Linked DNA regions of Homo sapiens: region 2 is linked to region 1. The links are contacts of gene promoters, found by promoter capture Hi-C in blood cells and fetal thymus (Javierre and others, 2016). All regions are on one chromosome and are shown on one strand. The core of a region is centred on a gene start or on the middle of the fragment in contact, and the rest is flanking DNA. Distances in the headings are between cores, read along the strand shown.

Region 1 (3,201 bases), core at 43-2,542:
TTTCTGCCCCTGGGAGGAGGACTGGCAGGCCTGCCCCTCAGACCCATCTCCCCTTGGTGTGTGGTACCCACCCTTCCCTGGATGGCCCTGTCTCCCGGCAGCCTGTCCTGGGTGGGCCTGTCCTGAGGTTCCTCTTTCTCCACCACCTCTGACATGGGTTTTCCTGGGCCTAGCTCCCATCCTCCTACAAGCTGGGGATGAGGGCACAAGTCACCCACGTCTCCAGGGCTCAGTGTTCTCCTCATCAAAATAGAGAGGACAATGTTTCATAAGCTCATTTTATAAGAATGAGGTAGAACAATGTGCACAAAGTGCTTAGCTCACGTCCTGGCTAGCCCTCCTCTTTGAGCCAGGCTCGTGGTCTCTTGCCTTCGGTGCTTAGTGGGGATCCTGGTCCCCAAGCTCTCCCCAGGGAGCTTCCGGAGTACACAGCGAGTGGCCTTCTGCCCCTCCCTGGGAGTCCTGGCAGGAAGCCCAGCTGCCTGTATGGCCACCCTACTGTGCCATGCCCCTACCTCCCGGGCTTCTCCCTGCCCTCCACCTGCCCTCCTTGATGGTAAATTGGGCTCCAATATCACTTCTACCAACTGTGTCCTGTGATACTCCATGTACCCCAGGAGAATGTCACCTCAACTTGGTGGGAATGTTTGGACCCTAGGGTGGAGCCTGACTGCTTCATCTCAGTGTCCCCAGGGCTCAGGCCAGGCCCCATGGATGAGATGCATCGAGGGAGCATCAACAACTGGCTGGGAAGTGGCTGGAGGGAGGTGCCCCTGGTCCCTCCTGGAAAGATAGTGCCTGGTATGTATCTGTCCAAGAAGTGTCATGCCCTGGCCCCGTCGGGCAGGAAAGAAGGGGCAGAAGATGCCTGGACTGTGTGGGAGGCAGGGGTGGGTTGAGGTGGTGGGCAGCTCCGGTGCTGACTTGCCAGCCCTGACAGGGACAGTTGCCTCCTTGTCTGTTCCTGTCCCCTGGGGCCGTGCTTTGAGGCACTCATTTCAGCCCCATCTGGTCTGGGTGGGTGTGTGCCACTGCCCCCTCCCTTGGACAGCAGCGTGCCTTCCTCTTTCCCTCAGGTCTCTGCGAGGACGCAAGGTGGGAGACCCTGGAGGAGGGGAGCCACTGCCTCCTGCCCTGGGCCTACCTGAGCTGCAGGTTCCTCATGAAGTCCTCCATGGTCACTTGGTCCAAAAGCACAAAGTCAGGTTTGCCATACTCAGGGCCTTCCTCGTCCTCCATCCTGCCGGCTGGAAACACCTTGCCTCACCTTCCTGTGCCTGCTGGAAGGACAGTGAAGGAGAGGGGGAGGGAAGGCTAGGGGAGGCCCCACCGCCCCCGCCCTGCCCCACCAGCCTCCTCCAGTGCTGGTGTAAAGTAGGAAGTGGGTTCTAGTCCTGGGAGGGGCTGCCCTCCGCACTTGCCACTCCTTCCCCCTCGAGGTGCTCTAAACCCTGCTTCCTGTCCCTGCGCCCCACAAGGAGGCTGTGCCTAACGGTCTGACCCGTTTGCACGCCAGGGGCGAGGGGCCGGATGCTGGGTCCTCCCCGCTTTGGAGGGTTCTTCGCTGGCCTCCTTCGGAAGCTCCCCTCCACCCACAAGCAGGAGACAAGACTCCGTGGGTTGGCTTCCAACCCTGGCAGCACGTTAGAGTCACTTGTGGGACTTTAAAGAAAGATTTTTTGACGTGATCTTGGTTACCTGGCTGTGTGTGTCTCTCAAGTCAGAACTGAACACTAGATGCAATATACTGTATGTACATTGTACATTAATACAAAAATGAAAAAGGATCCTAATGCCCAGGCCTTTGGGGTGGGGGCAACAGCCTTCTTTGCAGTGTGAAGGCCACACTGGGGTGTAGACGAGCAAAGCTTCTTGTGTGACCTGCCAAGGGCCAGTGGTCCTAGCACTGCAATTCCCCACCCCAGCCACGGGGGAGGGACAGAGGACCCCAGAGCATCCTCTGCATGGGGCTGGCCTTCAGTGGGACCCCTGTGCCCCTAACTGTCCTCTGCCTTGTACTTGTGTCCAGCCGATCCCCCATAAACTGCAGTGAGGACCAGGAACATGCCTGGAGCCCTGTGGCCTCATCTCAGAGCTGCTGTCCCTGCACTTTGAAGATGAGGCAGCGCATTTGGGGAGCGGCTGCATTTAGGGAGTGGCCAAAATCTCCAGACACTGCATTCCTGACACTTAGTGCTCCTGGAAGAAGTGGGAGGGGTGCAGTTCTCTTAGCTTCCAGGCAGACTGGAAAAAGTTCTTTTTCATCCCAGGACAGACTGGGGCAGGTCACACCCATCCTCTAGGAACACTGGGGCGATTCTCTCATCAAAGGTCAAATGGATGCAGTTCTCTCTCATCCTACAAATAGACTGGTGACATTTCTCTTTCACCCCTTCCCTCATACAGGGAGGTCAAAGGGCAGACTCCAGAATTCCCAAACTTCAGTCATTCATGTGCTGCCTTTGAGATTTGTTGTACTCATAAGCACTAGTTTAACTATTGTCTTTCAGTCATCCCATTTTTTAAACTTTGAAGTAATGGATAGGCAAGTTAAGTTTATTTTTTTCTCTCGAATACCTTAAAGCAAATGCATTCCTGATAAAACTGAAAGTACTTATTCAAGTACCTAATAAAACTGAGTCACGCACCACTGCAATAAGGGGCCACTGGCCTGAAAAATCCCCAAATTTGTAAGTGGGCAGCCTCTGGCTCCACCCTGGGCCAGACCTGGGGCTCCTCTTGGGCAAATTCAAAGTCAGTCCTTCGGAACTCTGACAAGTGTGGCCTCCTCCCCACCCCCAGGCTCTTGGGCTGGTGCTTTTGAAGGGTTTCCCAAACCTACACTCAAGTCTGGGAATTCTCACCCAGACTCTTGCCAGCTCATCTGTCTTTTCAAGTTTCACTTCCCCAACCCCCAGGGAGTCAAGCCAACCAGTGGAACCAAGATGGCTGTATTCCAGTAAAACGTTAAGGACACCGAAATCTGAACTTCGCAAACTTTTCATCTGTCACGTAATCATACTATTTTGGGTATTTCCCCCACCACTAACCACTTAAAAATGTCAAGACCACTCTTAGCTCAGAGATTTGGCTGGTGGGAGGAGTTTGCCCGCCCTTGCTTTAGCTGCTGCTGGTTGCTGGGACCCTGGGCGTCCTTCCTTGGTAGTTTGCACAAATTTGCCATGCATTGCCTCATTTGAT
Region 2 (3,150 bases), core at 54-2,553, 510 kb before region 1:
CATCCCAGGGGCCGAGCCGAGGGCAGGGCTCAGGGAAGTGGCAGGGGAGCAGAAGGGCCCAAACGAAGGTGTAAACAGAAGCTGACACATGTGCTCTGCTCCACCTCAGCAGCACCAGTTCAAACACCTATGCTTTGCTCTCCGCCCTGTGCCCTAGACCCCACACGAGCATGGGACATCCCCAGGACATTTCCAGAGAGCATTTTAAATTTCCTTAATCTTAATGTTTTTTACATGTATTTTCTAATTTTCCTCTATATTACTATAAAGAAACTTTTAGTGATTTTAAAAATCTCACAGTCATCTCACATCATTCTCCCGTAATTCCACCAGAAATGAGGCTGAGAGAATACAGACAGCCACAGCACAGTTCACACAGTAAAACATCAACACCTTAAGGCCTGTCCACATGAAGTGGGAAACTTCTGAACAGCCGTTAGAGAACACAGCAGACACCCACTGAGACTGATGTGGATGAGCAGTGTATACAGCCACTATCATCTGTGGAAAGGTTAAAACTGAAAAAGTAGAGAATGTGGGACATTAATCGTGGAGGCCATGGGCACAGGGAGAACTCTCTGCACTTCCTGCTCAATTTTGCTGTGAACCTAAAGTCAGTCTAAAAATAAACTGTATTAACCAAAAAAGAAAAAAGTAAGAAGACAGGCATAGATAAGTATGCTTGTATTTTCATAGACTATCTCCTGACCGGTACACCAGACACTGGTAACAGCAGCCACTTAGGGTAGAGTGGATAAACACAGTCACCTCACTGTGTAGAGCAGAACAGAGCCACAGACAGGGCCGTGAGTGAGAAGACCACCAAAGTTCTACTATACACCCCACCGTACTTCTCAAATTGTTTTTGATATATGCATACAGCATTTTTCAAAACACCAGTTAAAAAAAATAAAGAAAAACTTTTACGGAAAAATAGGAAGTTCCAGGGTAAAAGGGGTGCAAGAGAGTCAAATCTAAATAAAAGCTAGAGCAGCAAAATCACAGATGCTTGGCCCCAAAGATACAAAGCTGACCTCGTGAATGCATACTTTTGGGAAAGAAATGACCAGTGAACCCAGGACCATGGAAGCCTGGGTGGCACAGCCACCCAACATGAGACATCTCAGTGGTATAAGCCAGATGCTTGCTGCCAGGAGCCAGCACTGCACCAATGTAAAGCTCACAATGGCCCCTAGAAGCAGGGACAGCCACCCAGGGCCAACTTGAGAAGGAAAAAAGCTAAAAAACAAGGAAAAAGTTGAAGAATCCTCATCCCATCCCCTGAGCCACCCTAAATTGGAAAATACTCAGCAGACACAAAAAGCCTCTCAAGAGGACACTGCCAACCCACTCGGGCAAGGGATCATACCCATATGCCCTGAACACTTCTGGGGCCACCATGCCTGGTTTCCTTTCTTACTCAGAACTCAGGGAGGTATGTACATGGGGTTTATTGCTTGTTTTCCTTGGAGAGAGAAACAGTTTTCTGTTTTTCTTACTTAAGACCCAGTACAGTCAGCAGGGCCCCAAAGGCCTCAGGAAGGAGGCTGCTAGTCACCACACCAATCTGTGAAGTGCTCATCCTGCCAGCCACTCTGGTACCAGGCTCAGCCATGTGGTTCTGGGCTCAGCCATGCTGCCTTCAAAAATTAGGGGAAACAAAAGGTCTGGAAGTTTGTTCTCCTAGGAGAACTTGAGCATCCAAAGTGACATTTCTCCTGCTTTATTCAGCTTTTCACTAGGGACACTTGGATAATGCTAAGTGTTTTCTAGGTCACAGCTAGTCCTACCTACCCACTTATTGGGAAGCTCTAGCAGCAGCAGAATAGAAAGCTCTGGGTGAGCCTGCAAAGCAGGAGGCATGCTAGTGGGCAGGAGGGAGAAAGTGTGCAAACACCCCCGCTTCCCATGAATCACTAGGTCACAAAGCCCCACCGGGTGAGGGAACGTGTGACCCACTCAGACTGCTGTTTCAGACTCTGCTATGAGGGTCATGGGAAGAGAGCACTGGCCCTCCTTGGGAGAAGATTCTGGTCCAAATCTATGGTGTGGCTCAGCTATCAGCAGTGAAGATTGAGGGGCACTGACTGGTTTCTTTCCCCACATTCACCCTCACCAGCCCCCCGTGGTGAAGAAGGTTGGGTGTCACTTCCTCCAACCTCTGCAGGGCAGAGTGTGCTGCTATTACAGGGCCTGCTGAACCAGCATCTCACCCCTACTGAAGAATGGGTCAATAAAGATAGAAAAGTTATGACAGAAAAGGAGGGAAGGAAGGAGAGTCCCTTCCAATGGTCCTCACAATAATACCACCCACAGAGATCGGTGTGAAATTTTGCTTTCAGAAGTAGAATGTGCCCAGACAGAATCAGAACTGCTCATTTAACATGGGAACGGCGAAGCGCCCACTCCAAGACTTCTGCTAGTGGGTGGCCAGAAAGAAGCCATCCTCTCTCCCTTCCTGACTCAAATTGTACAACTGCTCAAAGGAAGAAAAAGAAGCCAGAGGTTCCTCTGCATCAGCCAGAGGCCAATCACCCTGATCCAGGCTGCCAAGTTAGAACCCAAGCTCCCAGATCAAGGGACAAGTCAGAGGTGGAGCTCTTTGATCAAGGGGCAGGTCAGAGATCAAGGTCCCCATTGAGGCCCGGCAGGGACGAGGCAAAAGACTGGGGCAGGCTGGCAATCTTAAACCCCATTTGCCCCAAGCCCCTAAAAAAAAAAAGTATTCCATAAATACTTGCTGAATCCAAGAACCAAACCTAGTACTTAGCTTATACTGAAAGCTTTAATTATACTATCTCATTTAATCCTTACAACAGCCCTTTAATTGTTATCACCCTATTGTATATAAGAAAAAAACTAAGACCTCAGTAAAAAAAAAAAAAAGAAAAGAAAAGGCTCTCTTCCTCGGCGCTGCCTACGGAGGTGGCAGCCATCTCCTCCTCGGCATCATGGCCGCCCTCAGACCCCTTGTGAAGCCCAAGATCGTCAAAAAGAGAACCAAGAAGTTCATCCAGCACCAGTCAGACCAATATGTCAAAATTAAGCGTAACTGGCGGAAACCCAGAGGCACTGACAACAGGGTTCGTAGAAGATTCAAGGGCCAGATCTTGATGCCCAACATTGGTTATGGGAGCAACAAAAAAACAA

The links. Contacts are between HindIII fragments. The CHiCAGO score rates a contact against its expected background, and 5 or more counts as called.
Region 2: a contact is called between a fragment that was not itself captured here and the fragment with the promoter of MYO1G in region 1, in 1 of 17 cell types (total B cells). The highest score is 5.9, in total B cells.

The regions. Positions count from the first base shown.
Region 1 is chr7:44,977,723-44,980,923 of GRCh38, forward strand. It overlaps MYO1G (myosin IG), which reads right to left and starts at 1,293. Exons shown (of 22, transcript NM_033054.3): 1 at 1,145-1,293. The coding sequence starts at 1,239. RefSeq lists a silencer at 1,236-1,325 and enhancers at 1,526-1,595, 1,626-1,675, 2,903-3,032. The HindIII fragment of the contact is 4,854 bases long and covers 1-1,866 here.
Region 2 is chr7:44,464,946-44,468,095 of GRCh38, forward strand. The region is part of intron 2 of NUDCD3 (NudC domain containing 3); the gene reads right to left. It also overlaps the pseudogene RPL32P18. Among named protein-coding and RNA genes, the nearest start is that of NUDCD3, 24 kb to the right of the region's middle. The HindIII fragment of the contact is 2,956 bases long and covers 1-2,781 here.